3 separate regions of the Homo sapiens genome follow, and regions 2 and 3 are each linked to region 1. Evidence: promoter capture Hi-C in 16 types of primary human blood cells and fetal thymus (Javierre and others, 2016). All regions are on one chromosome and are shown on one strand. Each heading gives the region's core, a stretch centred on a gene start or on the middle of the fragment in contact. The rest is flanking DNA. Distances are from core to core; before and after follow the strand shown. Region 1 holds the start of RWDD4 (RWD domain containing 4). Region 2 overlaps DCTD (dCMP deaminase). Region 3 overlaps CASP3 (caspase 3).

The links. The method cuts DNA at HindIII sites, captures the fragments that hold promoters and counts their contacts. A CHiCAGO score of 5 or more calls a contact.
Region 2: a contact is called between a fragment that was not itself captured here and the fragment with the promoter of RWDD4 in region 1, in 1 of 17 cell types (activated CD4 T cells). The highest score is 5.1, in activated CD4 T cells.
Region 3: a contact is called between a fragment that was not itself captured here and the fragment with the promoter of RWDD4 in region 1, in 1 of 17 cell types (monocytes). The highest score is 5.0, in monocytes.

The regions. Positions count from the first base shown.
Region 1 is chr4:183,656,012-183,660,472 of GRCh38, forward strand. It overlaps RWDD4 (RWD domain containing 4), which reads right to left and starts at 3,174. Exons shown (of 8, transcript NM_152682.4): 1 at 2,918-3,174. The coding sequence starts at 2,941. It overlaps TRAPPC11 (trafficking protein particle complex subunit 11), which reads left to right and starts at 3,282. Exons shown (of 30, transcript NM_021942.6): 1 at 3,282-3,436. RefSeq lists enhancers at 2,381-3,169, 3,084-3,213, 3,170-3,957 and silencers at 2,689-2,909, 2,724-2,933, 3,304-3,593. The HindIII fragment of the contact is 5,102 bases long and covers 48-4,461 here.
Region 2 is chr4:182,908,709-182,913,455 of GRCh38, forward strand. All of the region lies in intron 3 of DCTD (dCMP deaminase), which reads right to left. Among named protein-coding and RNA genes, the nearest start is that of DCTD, 6.3 kb to the right of the region's middle. The HindIII fragment of the contact is 1,202 bases long and covers 811-2,012 here.
Region 3 is chr4:184,643,726-184,648,100 of GRCh38, forward strand. The region is part of intron 2 of CASP3 (caspase 3); the gene reads right to left. Among named protein-coding and RNA genes, the nearest start is that of CASP3, 3.5 kb to the right of the region's middle. RefSeq lists enhancers at 1-338, 640-1,271. The HindIII fragment of the contact is 2,145 bases long and covers 1,648-3,792 here.

The sequences.
Region 1 (4,461 bases), core at 1,924-4,423:
AATAGAGGGTCTTTACTTTCTCATTCAAGCCCACTCAACTATGTAAAAGCTTGACTAACTTATATAACCTTAGATACTTACCACATAGGTGCATGCAGCAACACATGACAATATTACTACCAATGATACTTACTTTCAAACTCTGTGTCAGGGACTACTAAGCACTGTACAATGTATGATCGCGCTGACTTCTCAAATCAACCCTGTCAAGAGGCTCCTATTATTTTCTCCTTCCTAGGGAAGCAAGGAAGTCTCCCTGTAAAGCCACTCCAGAGCAAGCGCTCTTAGAACTTGGCTAAAGACGAACCTGGGTGCAAAGAGCATTAAACCTAAAGATAAGAACTATGAAAAACAATACTTTCCCATTATTTACATACATTTCTTTTATATGTAATCCTTCCCACAGTGATACAAAGCTCTAAAAAACACCTAAGGGCAAGAAAAAGAACTTAAGAAAAAGGCTGACAAGTATCTACCCAAGATGAGACAGGACTGTCAGAGAAAATGTAACTAGTAATCCTTGCTTGGACATAGTTCTTAGAACATTTTGGTATTACAACTGAGAAGTTCATCACTGTGATCACCGATGAATACCTGAGAAAAGAAGTAAAGCAAGACTGCACTTGGGTACACGTTTAAGTTTTTCAAAAAGATGCATGTCATGAATTCTACAAACTAAAGATGGTGAAAGTGGGCTTGATCTACAGTCAAAATTTTAGAATAGAAATTATTGGCTGGGCGCGGTGGCTCACATCTGTAATCCCAGCACTTTGGGAGGCCGAGGCGGGCGGATCACCTGAGGTCAGGAGTTCGAGGTCAGCCTGGCCAACACGGTGAAACCCCATCTCTACTAAAGACACAAAAATTAGCCAGGTGTGGTGATGGGCGCCTGTAGTCCCAGCTACTCAGGAGGCTGAGGCAAGAGAATCGCTTGAACCCAGGAGGCGGAGGTTGCAGTGAGCCGAGATCGGGCCACTGCAATCCAGCCTGGGCTACAGAGCGAGGCTCCGTCTCAAAAATAGCAACAACAACAGCAAAAAGACATTGTTGAAGAAACAGTGTGTGAGGAACTGGGACATTAAGGAGTAGACCCTAAGACCTAGTAAGTATATGAAAAACAAGATATACCCTTCTTAGATAGGGAAACTTGATTGGCACAATGAAGAAAGGCATAAAACACCGACTATATAGATTTCAGCCAGGCTCCACAGGTTTCTCTTGCTACCTTTACAGAAAAAACAAAAAAAAACAAAATACAGAAATTCAAGCCGGATTCAAGAATAACTAAGATTAGATTGGAACAAAAACCTTACTCAAGATATAGTACTACTCCTTCTGTCCCTAATCCTTTCCCATATTTTAATTTATGACTTGGACAGGTACAAAAATAGGAGGCAAGTTTATTAAATTTGTGGATGACAATTTGTTGGGACAGTGAATAATGCTGATGGCTGAATAAGAATCCAAAAAGTCTTTGAAAAGCAAGCTAATGATGAAATTTAGCAGGGTAAGTAGAACTTGTATCAATACTCAGATACCTAAATGTAGAAGTTGAAGATGAAAGACAAATTGCTTTGTATAAAGCACTTAAAAGATTTCAGTTGACAGTAAATTTAACTAGACAAAACAGCAAGATGCCACAATTTTGAAACAGGACATTTAAAAAATTAAAATCTGTCCACAAACACGTGATTCCAGGATAGTGAAGAGATTAACAAAGAATGGATATATGAAGACAAGCTAAAAGGAACCACTTCCTCAGAGAAGGTCTGAGAAACTGGGCAGGAAACTATCTTCAAAGATCAGAACATCGGTCATCTGAAAGAAGAATGAAATTTTCTTGTTAAACTGGAGATTCCTGGGCCCACCACAGAAATTCTGATTCAGTAGGTCTGGGGTGGAGTGCACGCATCTGTTTTCTAGCAACCATCTAAATGGTTCTAAGGTAGGGGACTATGGTCCAACTCTGAGAAACATTACACTGTATGTTCTTTGCTTTGCAGGGAGAAGAAGCTATTAACGCATTCACTTAGAAATTCACCCGGCAAGAATATTTTAGAAGAGATTCAGATATCAACTAGCTAGCTTGTTGGACTTTGGGTCCTTTAAAGGTTAACTTCCAATCCAGAGATTCTATTACATTTATCATGTAAAAGTAGTAAGTTTCAAGCATTATACTTTAAATTAACAGTGAACTTATCTACCACCCAATAAGACCTGGTTTCTAGTCCCGATTCTACCACGTACTTACTGTGCAGCCCTGCGGCTATCATCGACCCACCTATCAAAGTTAGAAGGTTCCCCTACAGATGGCCCGTAGCACCCACCCCCCAACTCTAATATTATATGATTCAATGTCAAAATGGCATCTCACAAGGAAATATTTGAGCATAAACCATAAATTCAGGTGGTACATGAATGCTCAAAACAGACAGATGGGTAAAAGATTTCCCCAAACAATATGGACAGAAACTCAGATGCACCACCAGTGTCATTTTCTTCCATGAGAAATGTAACTAACTCAATTAGCCCTCTACTAGCCAAGAGATTTAAAGATGACCAGACTAAAATTTAAAGGTGATCAGCCTAACTCAGTAAACAGGCACTGAACACATGGGATTCAAGGAGAGCCAAGAGCACTGGATCGTGCACCAAGGACGCTCATCCCTGTTATTAAGTAACCAGGGGAGACTCCCGGATTTGCAAAAATGAAAAATGAGGGGGGAAGAGTGGCAGAGGCGGACTCCTGGCCATTCACGCGCGCTTGGGTGGGACGCCGGTGAACTCGGGGCACCCCGGCCGGCTCCGAGGGCACAGGGCACGTGCCGGGCAGGCTGTCCGGGCACCAGGTCTCACGGGGGCCCGGGGCTGCGCGCCGCGCCCGCGCTGGGAGAGGGCCCTGAGCCGGGGGGCTCACCTCCTGGTCCTCGTTGGCACTCATCGCGCCGGTCGCGGGGCGCCTCCTGAGCGGACGGCGTTCGCAACAACGAAGAGAAAGCGAAGGCAGCGGCCCAGAGGCCGGGCGTCCCCCTTTCGCGCCTCGGCTGTGGGGGCGGCACAGTCTTGGCACTGGCAGACGCCAACTGCGCGCGCCCCGAGCCTCGGCAGCGCCCAGCCGCCGGCAGTGGGCTGTGGGCTACGAGCCGGAGCCGCGGCTGGTGGGGCCTGGGAAGTGCAGCGTCTCCCTGACGCTTGGAGGAGCGGCGTAAAGTTCCGGGACAGCGATTGGTGTAGAGCGCGGTCACTCAGGCCCAGAAAGTGCTTCCTGTGCCGGGGGAGGTGGGTACAGGGAAGTCTCGCCTGTTGGAACTGGCTGTGGGGCTGCGGCGGTGGGGACGGGCCACGGCGTTCTGTGACATCCCCCCGCCTCCCCTCGTCTTCTCCCGGCTGGCGGCGACCGGCCTCAGCTGCAGCGGGCCCGGGGCGTGGGGCCTGGGTGAGTCCGGGCCCGGAGACCCGCGGGGCCAGGCGGGACCGCCGAGGAAGAGAGCTAGCTCTTAACAATGCTGGTTTGGGGGCCTGCGTTTTGCAATCCCATCGACGGGTGCAATCCTGGCACTTCTCTTTTAGACCCGAGGAAAGACGCACCCGTTTCTAGGGCCTCCCAGGTTTAAGACGGGGGAATAAGAGGAGGAAGATATCTGCCTTTAGGGACTGCAAGGTTATTTCTCTACCTTTCCTCACTGGAGCTACCAGAACAGATACTGGGACCATGGGGACGGTGTTTCTCCTACGTTGGATTGTTGCTTCTCATCTTTAACATCGAAACATCATTTCGTCCCCACACTGTCGTTCCTCTTTTGTTCGTTTTGTAGTTGAACATCTCTGAATCCCATTCTTAGCAGCCTTGTGTCCTAACACCCTGAACTTCCAGTTAGTTAAAAGAAAAAAAAAGTAACCACATTAGGTTTTGGGGTTTTTTTAGTTGCCAATTTGATTGGGTCACCTTTCTTATCTTTCACGCTAGTTTCCAGTTTACTTCCCTTGCATTACTTGATCTCCCATCCATTATTCACCTTCTATAGCTGCGCCTCCTTTCGTGTATAGTTTCGTTGGTTGCTCCATTGGATATCTGAAAATTTCTCCTTCCAGCCTGTCATTGAAATCCATTCGATCTGCGCCTGTGCGTTATCGGGGTTCTCATTCAAATTCCTTTGCTGCAGAATAAGCACGACCATTTCAGGTGACATAGGAGAATGTGGCAAGACTTTCTGATACAATTTTCGTGCAGCAATTTTGGGACACATTTCCCATAATTTAGATCTCTGCTGTCCAGTTCTGTAGCCAGTAGCTACATCAGGCATTTGAAATAGGCTAGTCTGAATTGAGATGTGCTGTGAGTGTGAAATACACACCAGATTTTGAAGACTCAGTACAAAAAAAGGTAAAATATGTCATTAATAACTTTTATATTATTGTCAGTATGATAATATTTTGGACATACTGTACTGCGTTAAATTG
Region 2 (4,747 bases), core at 162-2,661, 750 kb before region 1:
GAAGAAGAAGAAGAAGAAATAAAGAAGGAATATCCATTTGCATTCAGATCATTAATGTGCTCAAATACTTAACATAGCTGTTTTCTAAATTAGTTTGCATGTGCCCCTGACATTTTATCAAGGCTACTAATTTTTCAACAAACCTTTTATCTTGAGAGATTACAGTACAAAGATAAACTTCAGCCCACTTCTGGGAACCCTGGAACCACTACTTTAGATTAAGTTTTATTTCAAACTTCTACGAGGTGAACTGACTCAAAAGTCACTTTTTATAGAAAGGAGACAGATATGTGTATTTTCATGGGTAGGTCCAATCCCCAAACATTTCAGCTTTTCCTAACATGTGTGCTCTTCAAAACAAGGAGTTATTTTGTTACTATATGTCTTTCATAGATATTCATAATGAAATAGTAAACTCTAGCACTTTAAAAATAATTAACTCTGTAACTATAAAAATACATAAATATCAAAATAAATTATATTAAAATATCATTATTTATTCCTTTCTGAAAACTGTTTATAAACAATTATATCTTAAAGTAAAACATGCTTACATGGAGCTGGTTGATTTTAGTGGGTGGGAGAAGACTCATATATACACTGGTGTGTCCCTCTGTTTATCTGAAACCCCACACGATCACAGCTGAGTTTGCCCCTTGATTCGTAAAAATAATCTACTTAATTTCTTTTCTATGCAGTTGTTCAAAGGTTTTCCATTGATTATAACAGTAGTTTTGTACAAAAGTCCCTAATTAGACCTGCTGTCGGGCCACAACTAGTAGAAGGCCAGGCAGGGGAGGAGCGGCAGGAAGCTTTAAGTGAAATTAAATTCTGCAGGAAAAGAAACAGCAAGTTATCAAATTCATGGACTGACTAACGAAACCAGAGGACATTCAATTTCAGGACGGAAAGAACAAATTTGATCTTAATTACTAAGAAGCTCTTACAAGTTGTGAGGAAGTCATATCTTAAGAAGGATCAGCCTCCTAACTTCTTGATAAATTAGTTTCTCAACACTAACCTTTCAGATGCCAAAGAAATATATCACGTGCATGGCAGTCAGGAAAATGTCAGTGTTCAAGGGGGTAAAGTAAATGGCTAAGTAATCACAAAAGTGACATCTATGCATGCTTAACAATATGCTAAGTCTGAAAAATAAAGATGAAATTTAAATAGAGAATTTAAAGAGGCACTGCCCCACACTGGCAAAGGTGTTTAAGATGCTCTGCTGAACTCTTTCGCCTTAATTAATTCCAGGTTTTTCAGCATTTTCCTTCCCAGCATTACATCCTTTTTAGAGTATCCCTGTAGACATAGGAACTGACTCGGGTAAGAGCCCCACTTCTACCCAACGCACTCAGAGTGAGGCCTCCCCCGACTCTTGGGGACACTGAGATGCTACGGTTCCCTCCCTGGTGCAGTGAGATGCAGCAGGCCAAGCAACCCTGGCTCCCTGGTCCATTGGGTGGGATAGGAGGCCAAGCACAGAGGCACTCACCAAAACCCAGAGCCCTTTGCCAGCAGAAATCAGCAAGGCCACAAGTGCTGGGCAGCTGGATACATGTGGCAAGCATTACTAAAAATTCCCTTAAGTTTAACAACGGGAACAAGTTAATTCTCCAACTCTCTAATTTGTAAACTATATCATCAAAATCGGTTACGAAAACCCAAGGAAAGAGTGATATCTGAATCACCAAGAGTATTTTACCTCATTTGATAACATTGGTATTTTGATTAAATGTGCTTCACTATAATGAATTCCACAAAGAAAAAGGAATGAAAAATGTCAACTGAATACTTCATCACAGGTTTAGCAACCCACCCCCTCATGAAAATAAAAATCTTCCCAAGTTTTTTAATCTTGTAAATTAGATAAATCTGCTGCTTCCTCTTTTTTAATTGTCATTCATCTGAAAAGATTCTTAGTATAATAACATTGCCTTCTTCCTGCCACTTAATGTTACTGACATCATATTATCTTTTGGATTTTTCAGGAAAAGGATGGAATAAAAAGCTTCTTTAGCAGAGGGAATTTTCATTTTCCACATTAATACTACATTATAATAAAATAGTTTTATGAAGTTTTGATCCCAAGACTGGAAGAACAAAAACACCCTTTAAAAATAACTCTCTAGAGACACAGCCCAGGAAAAGCTCCATCTTCCTATTATGTTACAAGTAGTGTGTGTTTCCCTCCTCCCCACAAGGCATCAATCAGGACTAATGACTTCCGACTTACGGAATTAATAAAGCAGTATTAAGCTGTATGTTATTTGGTAAACTCAAATTTACACAGTTCTCAAGCTCCCTGTCACAGTCCCTTGGGGCTGCTATAACAAAGTCCCATAGACTGGGTGGCTGAGAAACAATGGACATTTATTTCTCATGGTTCTGGAGGCTGGAAGTCAGGACACCAGCATGGTTAGATTCTGGCAAGGTCTCCTTTCAGGGTTGCAGATAGCCATCTTCTCCGCCTATCCTTGCACATGGAAAAAGAGTAACTGAGCTCCCTGGGGTCCCTTTTAGAAGGGCACTAATCCCATTCAGGAGAGCTCCACCCTCATGGCCTAATTACGTCCCCCCAGGCCCCACCTCCAAATATCAGCACATTGGAATTAGGGTTTCAACATGTGAATTTGGGGGGAGACACATTCAGTCCACTGCACTCCCCTTTGAAGAAATGTTACAGTGAGCCACGCATGTGGCTTTCTGCATGATGCCGGACACAGGCCACCCCTCCCCGAGCTCCTGATCTCTGAGGAGTAATTATTTTATCGGAGCCTCAGTCTGATCAACTGCAAAAAAAAATGAGACAATGATTGGCATTTCAGTACAGCTGAATTCATGTGCCCCACAGGAGAGACACAGGGAGGTAGCAGGAAGAGCACTGACCTTGGAATTAGGAGATGTCACCCTGCATGTGTGACATTATAGAAGTTACTTACAAGAAAGGAGGAGGCTTAGATCCTGTGGGCATAGAACCCTGAGACACTACTAAGGTATTGCAAGGGGTCCAAGCATATCCACAACTGGATAAATCCCATGTCCAGGACATACATAAACTTTTCCCAAACATACATAAATGCTATCCAATTAATAAAGTTCAGATTAACAAAAAATGTTACTGATACGAAGTAGTTTTTGTCATTGTGGAGTTTCTTACTCAAAAGATACTAAGAATTTAGCATTATGCAGGGGTCCTGGAAGTTTTTCAGCATTTAAAAGAGGGTCCTGTACATTCAAAAGAGTTAAAAATCATTGTCCAGAACTCGAGATAATCTCTAAAGCTCCTTTACAGGGATTAACCTATGAATTTACCCTTCCTGCTACAGCAGCTCAGTCACCATTAATGTAGATGAGGAAAGAATGGGTTGAGCTATCCAACTCCAGGCAGTATCCCCTTATTTTTTAAATTAATTTTGAAAATCTTAAAACGAAAGCAAAAAAAAAAAAAAAGACTTTGCATTTGAGTCAATTATCAGCAAACATTTCTGTGACATCCCAGGCAATCCAAACATTTACTTCTCTGTGGCCTGAAAAACCTTGAGAAGACAACAAGTGTACAGTTTATACACAGTCATCGTCATTTAGACTTTAAGCCCATCTTTACTGTATTATGGCGGCAGTAATACTAAATGCCTTTTAGAAACCATTTAATACCTTCTACAACTTTTATGGTACATCAAATTACAAGCTTACTCTCGTGAAAGAAAACTGTCGACATTCTAACACAGCTACATATAAATGAATAATTGATAAGTAAGAGCAAAGAGCTTTGAAAACCTAGAGGTATCATATGGATAATAAAAAATAATGCAGACAGACAACCAGTGCCCAGGAGCTCAGGAGCTATTCAATAAAAAACAATCGGTGAAGTTGGACAAATACCTATGCAGGTTTTTAAAAAAATTCCTTCTAGAAAGGGGCTCTGAAAGGTACTCTCCTCAATTTGGACAAAAGGCAGTGTCTCATAACCAACAAAATCAGCTACACGGGAAGTCAGGAGAGCTGGGAAGTCTGGGGTGTGGGGCAGGTGCTGCAAATGTACTGCATGGCCCTTGGCTTCCAGGTCACTGCTTAAAGATCTGCTGGGGGCTCTGGGTGACTGAAGAAGGCACAGGCCCCATTGGGAGGCCCACTCAGTGCTCACCCAGGACCCCTCCGCACTGTCCAACCACGGGTATCTTTTGCACCAGCTTGAGTATGACGGACCGCCATCCCCCCAGAATTCCTCCATATCAAAGTCCAGCCCCAGGGCCAATATTTCACTGCCCAGACTCGGTGACATACTGACTGTGGCCGTCACACAGTTCAATGCAGACCTTTAACATATCGACCCTCCACTTTCACCATTTTTATAGGGGACTTTGAACCGCACTGTGAAAAATTATCTTTGCATGGACTTAAAAACAACTAATCACTTCCCTTCTTTCTTACCATCAAAAGCTTATAGAATCAAAATCAGGGTGACAGTTTCTGAGTCCGCGCATTTTTCTAATTAGTCATCCACTACCACCGGCTCTGAAGCTGTGCTGAGAAGACAGTCTTACCCTCCCCCAACTCCATCCTCTCTTCCCACTCCGACGAGGGAGGGTGAGGTTAAATCAAGGATCTGAGGATTCGGTCCCCTTCATCCCTAAACTACTTTTCACATCCTGGAAACCCAGACTGCTTTGCAGTCCTCAGTTCCTCCTCTCTCTCCAGGTACCTCTTAACTTTTTCTTTCAAACATGGAGAAGTTGCCCCT
Region 3 (4,375 bases), core at 1,470-3,969, 990 kb after region 1:
ATATAAATAGGAAAAATAATTGTGATTTAAAAGATTTATCCTGGCATAGCAATGGACTTAACATGAATTGTTTCTTACTGGGCTGATGTGTGTGTAATTCTGTTCAATTCAGGATGCTGCTGCTAAGAAAGGAAATTTCTGAACACATATGTTTATGGCAAAGTTCTCAGTAGACCAACTGATATTACTTAGAAACCTGGAACTCAGGTCTCAGAATCACTTGTCTAGTTCCTGGATCCCTTAACACTTGCCACCAACGCTGTAACAGTCAGGTCTTCAAACACAAAAAAATATTGTCAGTATAAATTTACTTCACTCTAAAATAGATACTTAGACATTTCAAGCTGTGTTTTCCTACACAAGTAAAAAACTAGAATGTTCTCCCTATTTACATGGTGGTTAGCCAACTACTCATTACAATACTGAAGTAAAGCAGACTACAACATCTATAGCATTAAGGCAGAGAAATAAAAATTAATTTCTAAAGTGAAATTTCTATATTAAGCTATAAAGTATTAACAATTTGAAACAACCTGTTATTAAAGAGTGAATGTGTGAAAGTGTGCCTGTGGTGGGGAATTCAAAAGGAGATGTTAAATTAGGATTGCCAGTCTCTAAAACTGAAAGAAAAAATACATTATTTTACAATAGGATTTAAAATATTTGATAAAGATTTCTCAGGGACAAATACTATAGTGGACTTCATTAACTTCATTATTAGTATCTGAACAACATATATTTTCTCAGTTATCAGTTTATTTTGATATACTTTAAAAATTTATATGATGGTAAAGGAAATCCTTACAGCATCAGACATGCGCACATTTGCTCTCTACTTGTCATCATCCGCTTTTTCCACATGAAAGCACCAAATCCACACTCCTGGGAGCAGAGCTTTGGTTCCCGCAAAACTCACTGAAGTGCTGCTTAGCATGACATCACCTCCATTAGCTAGTGCCCAGCGGGGTACAAATTATTCTGAGGATGGTGATCTCATCTTAGAAAGATAAAAAATCATATCCTAAAGGAAACAGTCACTGCCTTAAATGAAAACATTTATGTGCCAGTCTCTAAAACTGGCAATCCTAATTTAAATTTTAAATCTCTAAAATTCTTAATCAGCTCATTAGGCTGTTGCTGGTTCCTGTCCTACAGGGAAACTCTGAGGTAAGAAATAAAATCTGGTCTCTGCCCTAAGGGTTTTTAAATCTCAAAGTGAGACCTAAAAAACAACTGTTAGTTTCTGAATCATGTCCATGAATGTAAATGCTTTTAAGAAACATTTACTAGTAAAGATTTACCAAAACAGTAGCCAAAGGATGTGGCGTGAGAGCTGTGTGCAAAGCGCTGCGTGATGACTGTCCCTCTTAATGCTGGCTCATACAGGCTAGGTACTGAACTCAAAGTACAAGCGTATTTTCGTGAGTCCTCCCAATGACACTCTGAGGCATAAGGATCCCCACTGCAGAGTTCAGGTGACTGAGGCTAAGAGAAGTTAATGAACTTTAAAGTCGCACAGCCAAGATTCAAACTAGGATCTTCCCAACTCAAGAGGGCAGACTCCCACTATTCTGTAGACAGCTTAGTACTATATAGGAATGATAACACTTAACTTCAGGGAAGGAAACAAAAATCCATAATCTCAGAAGCTTTAAATAAGACAAAGAAAATAAATAACATGATAGAAAGTTACTGCAGAGATAACAAAATAACATAATGCACTGAATTCTAATGAATGAAAAAATGGCAAAAATGACTATGGCATTTCTGATGCGACTAGGTAGTTTACTTTTGTGTTTTCTTTCCTTTTTTAAAAAAATTTAACAAACTTCGCATGTGGCATTCAATTTACTTCTAAAGTGAAATAGGCCAGACACAGTGGCTCGCGCCTGTAATCCCAGCACTTTGGGAGGCCAAGGTGGGAGGAATGGTTGAGATCATGTGTTCAAGACCAGTCTGGGCAACACAGAGAGACCCCATCTCTATAACAAAGTAAAAACAAGTAGCCTGGCATGGTGGCACACACCTGTAGTCCCAGCTACTCAGGAGGCTGAGGCAAGAGGATTACTTGAGCATAGGAATTGGAGGCTGCAGTGAGCTATGATCGCACCACTGCACTTGAGCTTGGGTGACACAGCAAGGCTGTTTCTAAAAATAATAATAATAAAAGTAAAATAACTGGTTTCATGTTCAGCGTTAGGTATATGTCATTAAAACATATTCCCTGTATCTCTGTGTTCCTCCAAAGGAAAAGTGAAGCCTGTCCAGCAGGACTTCTGGGGAGATTACACTTCTGTCAAACAACTTGAAAAATATCAGGATTATATTTATTACCTGTCAGAGAGGACAAAGTCTCAAAAGCAGTCACGTTTCCAGATTTAGCAAATGAAACAGAAAGAACATCTGTTTCACAATAGTTTGGACAAGAAAAGACTTCAGTTGTGATGTACCAGAGGTTTTATCAAAATCTTTTCCCATCTGGTCTCTGAATTCATTTGAGTACGTATAAGAATTATCAAACTGGCGATTGTAACTGGGCCTGGTGAAGTCAATCTTTTAATATTTGTTATGTAATTAAGGTAAAAATATGAGAACAGGAATGTAAAATCAAATACAGAATACATTGAAATAAGTTCCATTGTACTATACAAACAAACCATCCTTTCCTTTCCTCTGGCAAGGGCCACGTGACCAGGAAGACAGTACAGAGCACTCTCCACTATTCAAAGCCTCTGAGTTTATGACACAAGTTAGAAAGAAGGGCACTTAGTATGTGCAAACGATCTGTCTTCCCTGTGCCAGGTGAAGTCCTAAGATGGTGTTTTTGGAAGGACAAAAGGAGAAAATGGGAAAGCCTTCACAGATCTAAATGATTTGTATGATATAAGTGTAAAATGGAGGATCTCGGATGCCTTTTTATAAAAATTACAGATGACTTTAAAGCCTCAGCACTCCCACCAAGGATGACTACTTTGCAGAATCAGATTCAAGTTTAAAACCGCTTGAAGAAATCCTGCTGTCAGGAAGACTGAAACTGCCAAAACTCAGATTCAGTAGCATTTATTCATTTGATATTTGCACCATAACAATTTACTGAACACCAACTGTGTGCAGAGTACTATACTAGACCCTGAGTGTATCAAGCAGTGGAAGAGACAAACCCTATCTCTATTCAGGGCTTATACCGATGCTCACTGGTATTCAAAAGTGGCTCAACAAGGCAGATGCCAGACCGTGTCCAATACATATCAGGTAGCTTGATTTCATTATTGTAATGCAAAGAAGCTCTACAGGCAACATGTGAAGGTAAGAACAAAACATGCAGAGAAAGAATATTATATAAATCTAAGAATTCTCCCATCTTTGTTTAGGCCCAAACACCAGTGCTTCTTATCTTTGGGGCAGAGCTTAAAGATCTAATAGTAGGCACCAGAAGCAATGTAATATATCATTCATCAAAATAAAGACTGCTTTGTAGGGGGATGAAGCAGTAGGAGATTGTGTTAAACGAGGTTTGAAAACAAAACAGTAAAGAAGCATTATAATTGCCTATATCAGATGCCAGTCTCTTCAAATGGCAAGAGGCAAGGCCTTTATTCAGGATAGCAAAAGCAAATCTGATTTAACTAGGTACAATGTCTAATGTCTCTTACTTTGAACAGGTTTTATTGCCATACTCCAATAAACTGTTCATCCATTCACTAAAATAATTTTCACTTTCAAAAACCTTCTTTTGCAAAAAGGCAAAGCAAAACCAAAGTCCAAGCATCGGGCTGTGATAGAGATGATTTAAGCTTTATATTTCATTTTTAGAGATTATGTAACCACAGCACGCACATTCACAGTGGCTGAGCCCATTTTGATACAGTCTGGTCTAACCACCTTGCCTGGCCCTCTTTCAGCTATCTTGCAGGTTTACATCGTTTCAGTGACTCCGTATGTCACCTCTACCATTTCTTTTCTAATTATTATTTGCTGAATAATCCTAAACCAGGTCTACTTTTTCTAGATAGGGCATAAAAGTAAAAATACAATGGATGGGCATTCACTGTGTTATGCCAGGCCCCGCATTTGGGGCAAGACACTAAGGATACCAAGATAAACCAAGTCCGTCCCTCCTGGAGTTTGCTTGCAAATCTAGCAGGGAAGATAGTAAACAAGCAACTGCAAAGGATATGACACATCTCTCTTAGGGAATGCTGGCTGCAGAAAGAACACAGCATAGGAAGATTTAACCTTAAACTGTTTAATGAAAACAGAAATTTAAGTAGCAGCTCTTCTAATCAAATGTGATGGCGGGAGAAAGGGAGTGCAGAGGTGTTGCAGGCAGACACTAGGTATGAAGGTCAGCATTGCCGTGCAGAAATCGAACCGG